Regions from separate parts of the Homo sapiens genome. Here region 2 is linked to region 1. Evidence: promoter capture Hi-C in human tissues and cell types (Jung and others, 2019). All regions are on one chromosome and are shown on one strand. The core of a region is centred on a gene start or on the middle of the fragment in contact, and the rest is flanking DNA. Distances in the headings are between cores, read along the strand shown. Region 1 holds the start of IL21R (interleukin 21 receptor). Region 2 has its middle 120 kb from the start of MIR548W.

Evidence for each region. Contacts are between HindIII fragments. The study calls those that stand out against the background at their distance.
Region 2: a contact is called between a fragment that was not itself captured here and the fragment with the promoter of IL21R in region 1, in 1 of the 25 tissues and cell types used here (dorsolateral prefrontal cortex).

Annotation. Positions count from the first base shown.
Region 1 is chr16:27,399,298-27,403,423 of GRCh38, reverse strand. It overlaps IL21R (interleukin 21 receptor), which reads right to left and starts at 1,250. Exons shown (of 9, transcript NM_181078.3): 1 at 806-1,250. RefSeq lists enhancers at 619-738, 631-1,173. The HindIII fragment of the contact is 8,819 bases long and covers 1-4,126 here.
Region 2 is chr16:26,145,299-26,149,424 of GRCh38, reverse strand. No RefSeq gene overlaps it. Among named protein-coding and RNA genes, the nearest start is that of MIR548W, 120 kb to the right of the region's middle. The HindIII fragment of the contact is 4,001 bases long and covers 1-3,681 here.

The DNA.
Region 1 (4,126 bases), core at 1-2,500:
CCTCCTGGCTTTGAATGTCCCGCACCTGGTCTTCTGCCTTCACTGAGCAGAGACGTCATTCCTGCGGCAAGTCCTAAGTTCCCGCTCCCCAGGGCTCCTCCACCAGGAATGTTCTTCCTTTCCCATCCTTCAAGGCTCAGCCTCCACTGACCTCCCCACCCTCCTCTCCTCCACATGCACAGGGAACTGGGTTGGCCTCTTACCATCCGACCCGTTCCCCGTGCTTCATGAGAAAGATGCAGCGACAGCTCATGGGGTCACCTGGCTTGACTGCCCGACCTGCTACGTCCCAGTTGAGTCACCGAGGGAAAATCACTCTACCTCTCGCAGCCTCATTGCCTCATCTGCGAAATGGGCACACCAGCCATTGTTTTGAATGACTGGGTGGAATCAAGGTGGTAAGACATAGAAACTGACACAGAATGGGTCCCATCAGGCTCTACACCCATGCCCGTCACCTCCCGACTCAGCCGCCCAGAATCGGGTGATTGACATGTTATGTTTGGCTTGAAACTGGCTTTCCTTCCCCAGCCCGCTACATTTTGGAGGCTGGTTTTCAAGATAGAGGGTCGTCTCAGCCACATCCCTGCTGCTGGGCCCCTAAGCTGTGCTGAACAAGAGACCCCAACCTCATTTCTGCCCAGCCTCACTGCATGAATCTTCTTTGCCTCAGTGTCCCCAATTGTGACTTGGGCACAGTCCTCCGAGCCCTCCCACTGTGACACTAGATGCAGCAGGCAGGGAACAGTCCCTCCTGGGCAGAGAAGGCACCCTGGTCCCAGCAGAAAACCAGGGCTGGAATTACCTTCTGTTTCGGCTTCTTTCTCAGAAATCCATTCCGTGTGCTGGGGGCAGTCTGATGGGCTTCTGGGGGTGGCAGCTGGGTTCAGCGTGGGGGTGACAGATGAGGGTCTGAGAAAGCAGGCAGAGGCCTGGGGTGAGAATCCACACCCAGCCCGAGTCACCAATCAGGCTGTCATAAGACCTGTCACTCTGATGACGGGCAGCTGGGCCTCCAGGCAGGTGTCCCACAGAGCAGCAGACAGAGGAAAGAGACGGCAAGGAAGGTACCAGGCGGCCGCAGCAGGGATGCACGGGCCGCAGACAGACAGACACAGCTGCGTGGCTGTCAGCCACACTCAGGGAGAGGCAGGCAGAGGGCCAGACGCCGAGCTTACGGTCACTCAGCAGAGAGACGCCAGTGGGTCTGTCTGAGGCCGCTGGCTGCCACCCAGCCGCATGTGCAGAGTGGGGAGGAAGAGGAGGATGTGGTGAGCCGCTCCCCGCCAGCCCCGCCCACCCGCAGCTGGGCTCCTCCTGGGAGGGAGTGAGAAAGAGGTGGGAGGGGGCCTGGCCCCACAGCAGGCACCCACTGTCACCAAAGGTCACCTGCAAGTAAGACATTTGGGGCCATCGGGGTGACACTTCCCTCTTAGGGACCTGTGACATCATCCCCACAGGCCTCTCAGTCATAACCCATGAGGCAGGCAGTGCCTCCTGGAGCCACCACATTGCACAGATATGGAAACTGAGGCCAGAGGTGTGAAGATGTGGCACAGTTTCACCCGTGGACCCAGAGTCCTCAGTGGCCGACTCCAGCCCCTCAGCACAGAGAGAAGGACCAGAACCTTGCCCAAGGTCCCACGGAAGCCCCTTTTTCAGACTTTGCAAACCAGCCTGTTTCTTATTCCTGAGCCTTACCTGCCTAATAGGGTCTGAGCTTGGGACCCTCTGCTCTGGCTTGACCCCCATGCCTCTCTGCCTCCATTTCCTTTGGATCCAGTCTCCTGCTGCAGAGCTCCAGGGAGCAGGACCCCTTGGGCACGTCACATCACCTCTCTGAATGCCTCACTTTGCCCATCTGTCAAATGGGGGCACCTAGCTATGAGGAAGAGGGCAGACATTAACACATGAGAATTCAAGAAGAAAATAGAGAAAAGAAATTCTCAAGAGAGTTTTCATCTTGCTAACATGCCAGAGGCCCATGAGAGGGTCAGATGTTTCTGGAAGACATTCAAGAAACCAGGAGACAAAATGTAACAAGCTTAATGCCTAGTGCAGTCTCCAAAGGAGAGCAAGAGAATTGCTACCACCACCACCGCTACCACCACCACCACTACCACTGCCATCACCACCACCTCGAATTACTTTGGTGCCTACATGATCTCACTTTATCCCACAAAGTGTGAGGCAGACAAGATTAGTCCCATTTTACAGATGGAGAGACTGAGGCCCAGAGGAGTGAAACGTCACACAAGCCAAGAAGAATTAGAGCTGGGATTTGAACCTGGGTGTGTTTGATTCCTAAGCTTATACCAGGCTGTGAAAACGGGGCCATACCAGGATGAAATGTCCCACAGTTGGGGGAGGCTATTTTATGCTGTTTTGATAACAAGATGCAATTTGTAGCTCTCCCTGCTGACTCATTTTTGGGAATCAACTTGCTGTTGACTTTCGTGACCACTCCAGAGAAAAAAGAGAAAGCGTCTTGCTATTCTTTCTTTCTTTTTTTTTCTAGCTGTTTTTGAGGAACTTGGTACAAATTCCCCTGTGGTTGATTTGAGGGATCCTGGCCCTGTAGAGCTCTTCCCAGCTACCGAAGTGTGTCGTGTTCTCTGGAGAACGAACCTTGGGAAGACACCAGCTTTTGTTTTTCTTTCTCTTGATCTTCGGGGTGAATTCTCTGATAACATGCACTGAAATTTGTAGTGGTTGAAAGATCAGGAGAAGAGACAGTAAAAAGAGCTAATATTTGCTGAAAGCTCATTGTGTGCCAGGGTTTTAAGGACTTTAAAGATGCACCCTCTCATTTAAACCTCAGAAATACTCGAGAAGGCTGTGTGCAGCGGTGCACACCTATAATTCCATCATTTTGGGAGGCTGAGGTGGGAGGATCGATTGAGGCTAGGAGTTCAAGACCAGTCTGGGCAACATAGCAAGACCCTGTCTCTATAAAAAAATTTAAAAATTAGACAGTCATGGTGGTGCACGCCTGTAGTCCCAGCTACTCTGGAGGCTGAGGTGGGAGGACCACTTGAGCCAAGGAGCTGAAGGCTGCAGTGAGCTATGACTGTAGTGCTGCACTCAAGCCTGGGCAACAGAGCAAGACTCTGTCTTCAAAAATAAAATCCCCAAAATGAAAAAGAATGAGTCTAGAAGATAGTTATCATCATCATCATCATCGTCCCTGTTTTACAGATGAGGAAACTGAGGCTCAGAGAGGTTAAGTGACTTGTCCAAGGTCACACAGCTGATGAGTGCCAGAGTTGGGATTTGAACTCAGTCATTTGGGCTCCAGAGCCCGCACTCTTAACTCACTACACTGCTCTGGGGTGTGTATGAAAACAAGGATATTCAATTTCTCCTCCCTCCCTCCTGCCTGCCTTCTTTATCTACCTGCTTTCTACCCACCCACCTACCTATCCACCCATTCATTCTTCTCTGCACCCACCCACCCAGCCATTCCTTGCTTCCTCCCCCTAATATTTATTGAGCAGGCTCAGAGAGGTTAAGTGACTTGTCCAAAATCACGCAGCTTGGCTACATCCTGGGGCTAGCCCACAGAAATATACACACAGTGACAGCCCCCATGGAGCCTATATTCTAGTAGGGAGAGTTAGACAAAAAGAAGTAACAGACAAACTCAATGTAAACTGTACTAAATGTCATAGAAAACCAATGAGAGATCAAGGTTGTGACATTTGGGGGTACACTAGGTGCTAAGAAGTGCCCAGCCATGGGAAGAACATTATCGGCAGAAGGATCTGCAAGTGCAAAGGCACTGAGGTAGGAAAGAATGTGGCTGGCTCCAGGAACTTGAGAACAGCATGGCGTAATACAGTGAGCAAATGGAGGAATAGTAGAAGGTGAAGGCACGGAAATCACACATCTACACCACATGGGACCTCACGGTTTTGGGTGAGGAAGGTAGATTGTTCCAAAGGAAATGGGAAGTCATCATTGGAGGGTTTCATCTTAAGAGTGGCTTAATCCAGTTTACATTTTCAGTTCAGGCCAGGAGTTGGGGAATGGGTGGGATCAGCAGGGGTCACAGTCCCTTGGTGCTTAAAAAGTAGATGCATTTGGAGCTGCCAGGCCCATGTCCACTGGGGTAAACATGAGTCCC
Region 2 (4,126 bases), core at 432-2,931, 1.3 Mb after region 1:
AGACAGAGGCGGTAAAAAGGATGGGGTTGAAAAAGAGAACACTTACTGATATTATTAAATTATTAGATATAAATTATACCTGAAGCCAGCCACCTTTTGTAAATCTGTTCCATGAGCCAGTAAATTCCATTTAGTCCTGAATCATATTTGAATTGTGCTGCCTGTCACTTCCAAGTAAAGAAGTAAGTGACTAATATAGGTATTACACAAGTAGTGTATTAGTAAGGGGATGATATAATCAGTTTCCCTTGTCAGTTAACATGGCCCCAGATGTACAATAAATTACAAATAGAAAAGGGAATAAACTGGTGAAAGGTGGACCACTATGGGGAGATCTCAAAAGAACCCGTAAGATTAATAAATGCTTAGCATAAATATGTCTTCTGCAACTATTTGCAAAACCTAACAGTCCTAAATGGGATTGATGAGAGGTAGCTGGATTCTGGACATACTTTCTTTTAAATTATATGCAAAGTATAAGTGAAAGAAAGGAGCAAGAGTGAATATAGATTTTGGCTTGGAAAGACAAAGCAGCCATTTACTCAGATGGAGAAACATTGGGAGAAACAAGTTAGGATGATTTAGGACATCTGAAATTTGATTTGGATGTATTAAGACTGAGATGCCTATGATATTCCCAAATGGTACTTCAATAGAAAAATCTGGAGTTCAAGAGAAAGCTCTGGGCTAAAAATGTGCAATTTGTAGTCACCAGCATAGAGGGTGTCTAAAATCATGAGAATGTTTAAGGTTACCTAGTAATACAAATACATAAAGAAGGACTAAAGGACCTGGAAAATGGGGTGTAACCAGCATGACAAGGACTGAAGGACCTGGAAAATGAGGTGTAAACAGCATGCAAGGATGAAGAGTGACCAATGGTGTGGATTAGTCATACAAATAATAGATGTTCTTGGAAAGTGAAGTAAGGCAGCTGTTGGAGAGAGGGATGAGTGATCAACTATATAAATGCTGCTGATAATCTAAGTACCATGAATACAGGATTTCTCCAGAGATATTAGTTGTTACTCTTCTTGGTATTTGTCCTTAACTCAAGATAGAGCCTCTGGAGGTTGTTTACCTTAATGGGGGTTGTTTAGAGTCAAGTATTTAATAGGATTTAGGTAACTTGGGATTTCAGATGTCTTGAACCTGAAATTTGGGAGAAGAGCATCTATACGTTGGATATAATATGTTAATGCCCCCAAAATTTGAGAAGCCTCTGGGGGAATTTGTAACTTGCATAACTGTGGTGGTGCAGAAAAGATGCTGAACCCAAAGATGTGTTACAAAATGCTACTTTTTAATATGATAGAGGAATAGAATTGCAAGGGGATAAAGCAATGCATTGCAATGTGAGAAACAAAAAAGGGTCCACATATGTCTGAAACCAGTGCTGCTTTTTTAAATGTACGTTTCATATATCCTTGCCTGACCCCATGATGCCAGTCCACATCATAAGGTCATAATGATTCTCCCAGATGCTGAGGTCTAATATCCATGCATTCTCTCCTCTGTCCTATGGACCTTAAGGGTCTTATAACCTGGATATGTATATATGCAAAAAGGATTCACAATTGCAAGTATCTTAAGCAATGAAGATGTTTCTTCTCACATTTGATAAAAAAGCTTGGAAGGAGGTAGTTGCAGGGTTGCATGATTCAGTAGATAAAGAAGGCCAACAAAGAGTCAGGGTCTTTTCATCAGTTCTTCCCTGACATTGTCAGTGTCAGCCATATTTGCCTTCATGGTCACAAGATGGCTGCCACAGCTCTTACATCTGTCATCCTCACAATAGCATTCAAAAGTAGAAAAAATAGATCCCTTTCCTCTTAGCCTTGGTCACTGTCATCCATCTATCTATCATCTATCTATCTATCTATCTATCTATCTATCTATCTATCTATCTATCTATCATCTATCTATCTATCATCTTTAAGGATTCTATTTCTGAGAATCTCTGAGCTGACTACTGCTCAGGCTCCACTGGCTATTAGGAGCTCACATGAATTGCTTAGATTAGTCACGGGCCATTCCTTGGGGATAGAGAAGAGGTCCTCTTTCCCTCCACACATCACCATCACTTACCAAAACAAAAGCAGGGTTCTTTTAACAAGGGAAATGGGAGAAGATAGCTGTTGTATAACACCATCTGTGTTAGGAACTATGGCCATTCACGACATAAGTTTGGGATTTAGCTATTATATTGTTTAAACCATGGGAGTGAATGACACCATTCAGAACATCTGCATGAAGAGAACTGGTCCAAAGACAGCCACCTCCCCTATTTAAAAAAAAAAAAGAAAGAAAGCCAGGCGCAGTGGCTCATGTCTGTAATCCCAGCACTTTGGGAGGCCAAGGCCAGCGGATCACCTGAGGTCAGGAGTTTGAGACCAGCCTGACCAACATGGAGAAACCCCGTCTCTACTAAAAACACAAAATTAGCCAGGCGTGGTGGTGCATGCCTGTAATCCCAGCTACTTGGGAGGCTGAGGCAGGAGAATTGCTTGAACCCGAGAGGCGGAGGTCGCAGTGTGCCGAGATCACGCCACTGCACTCCAGCCTGGGCAATAAGAGCCAAACTCTGTCTCAAAAAAAAATGAAGAAGAGAAGGAGTCTGTAAGGGTGAGACAGGATGAGAACAGAGCTGGGAGAGGTGTCTGAGAGAGGAATGGTATGGAAACAGAAGTGGGAGAGCTTCCTTGTATAAGGAAATGGCCAGCAGCATCAAATGCTACAGAGAGATCAAGTAGAAGAGGGCTAAAAATGTCCTTTAGCCCTATTTAGCAATTAAGACATCATTAATGGCCCTATTAAGCTTTTTATTAGACTTATGGGAGCAGATACCAGAAGGCAGGTGTATGAGAAGAGGAAAGTAATTGAGAGAGTTGAGAGAGGGTAAAATCTACTTTCAAAGACTTCAGCCACAACGGTGGGCTGTTGCATGGTATTTTGAAAAGTGCTACAGAAAGGTTTTTTATTTTATTTTTTAAATTAAGGATGAGATGTTCTATTTTGGACTGATGTTTATAAAGACTGAGTGAAGAGGAGGATACAGGAATAAAGTCCATGATCCTTGACGTTAAGAGTGAAGAATCCGATGCAAAAGTAGGAAATGATGAAACGTGGGTGGAGGATGAAGGATTCATGCCATGCTAGTACTTTTTAAAATTCATAATAATAACAATAATAACAGTGAGCCCACTGAGCTCTTTTTTGTTGTTGTTATTCTCTCTTTTAAGCTCCTTATATATGTCATCCTATCCTCACATGTGCTGAGGCTGGTGCTATCACTGAATACATTTAATGCATGAGGTAATCCAAGTCCAATGACAGGCAGAGAGAGGCAACTTCAACTTTCTCCGTGAAGCCAGCTCCTTTGGCCAAGAGAACAAGAGGGAGAGAACAGGGATAGGGATAGAAAGTTTGACAAAAGGGGGACGTCTCAGAAACAAATACAAGAGGACTGAAAAAAAAGAACTTCCCAGGGACCAATAAAAGAAACAAATAGCAGAACGGAGTGCCCAGCCGAGGTTAGAAACCAGAAATTTATAAGGACCCCAATCTGTATTCTCTGCCGTGAGCGCCAGAGCAGAGTAAATGGATGATGGGATTCATCCTGGCTTGGGGACTGGTCTATGAGTCTGTGATTTAGACTCAGTCCTCGTCCTGGTGCCTATGGCATAAACACTTCCTATTTTATTGTGTGTTTTTTTCCTTTACTCTCAGCAGGAATCCCAGGGTAACAAAAGCACTTATTTCCAAAGCCCTTTTCCCAAGCATTCACGGAAGCAGGTCCTCTCCCCTGACACCCTTTACAGGTGCTTCCACTGGGATGAAAACTAAGAAATGCTTTCTTCCCTAAATGACAGAAAAGAAGATATCTCCTGCTTGATCAAGCTATCTCTCGCCTTTGATTTGCAAAGTCACAGTGGAACCTGCAGCCTCATCTTCAAACGCGTCCTGCTCTTTTCTCTAGGGAAAGAAGGAACCAAAGTGGTTGCTAAATATTGCTTTTTCCATGAGTTGTAAGAAAGAACATACACCACTTCTTTTTTTTTCTTTTTTGCCTTTCTTGTAGATTTTTGATTGTCCCAAGGCTGTTCCCATGATCCTAGAAACAAAC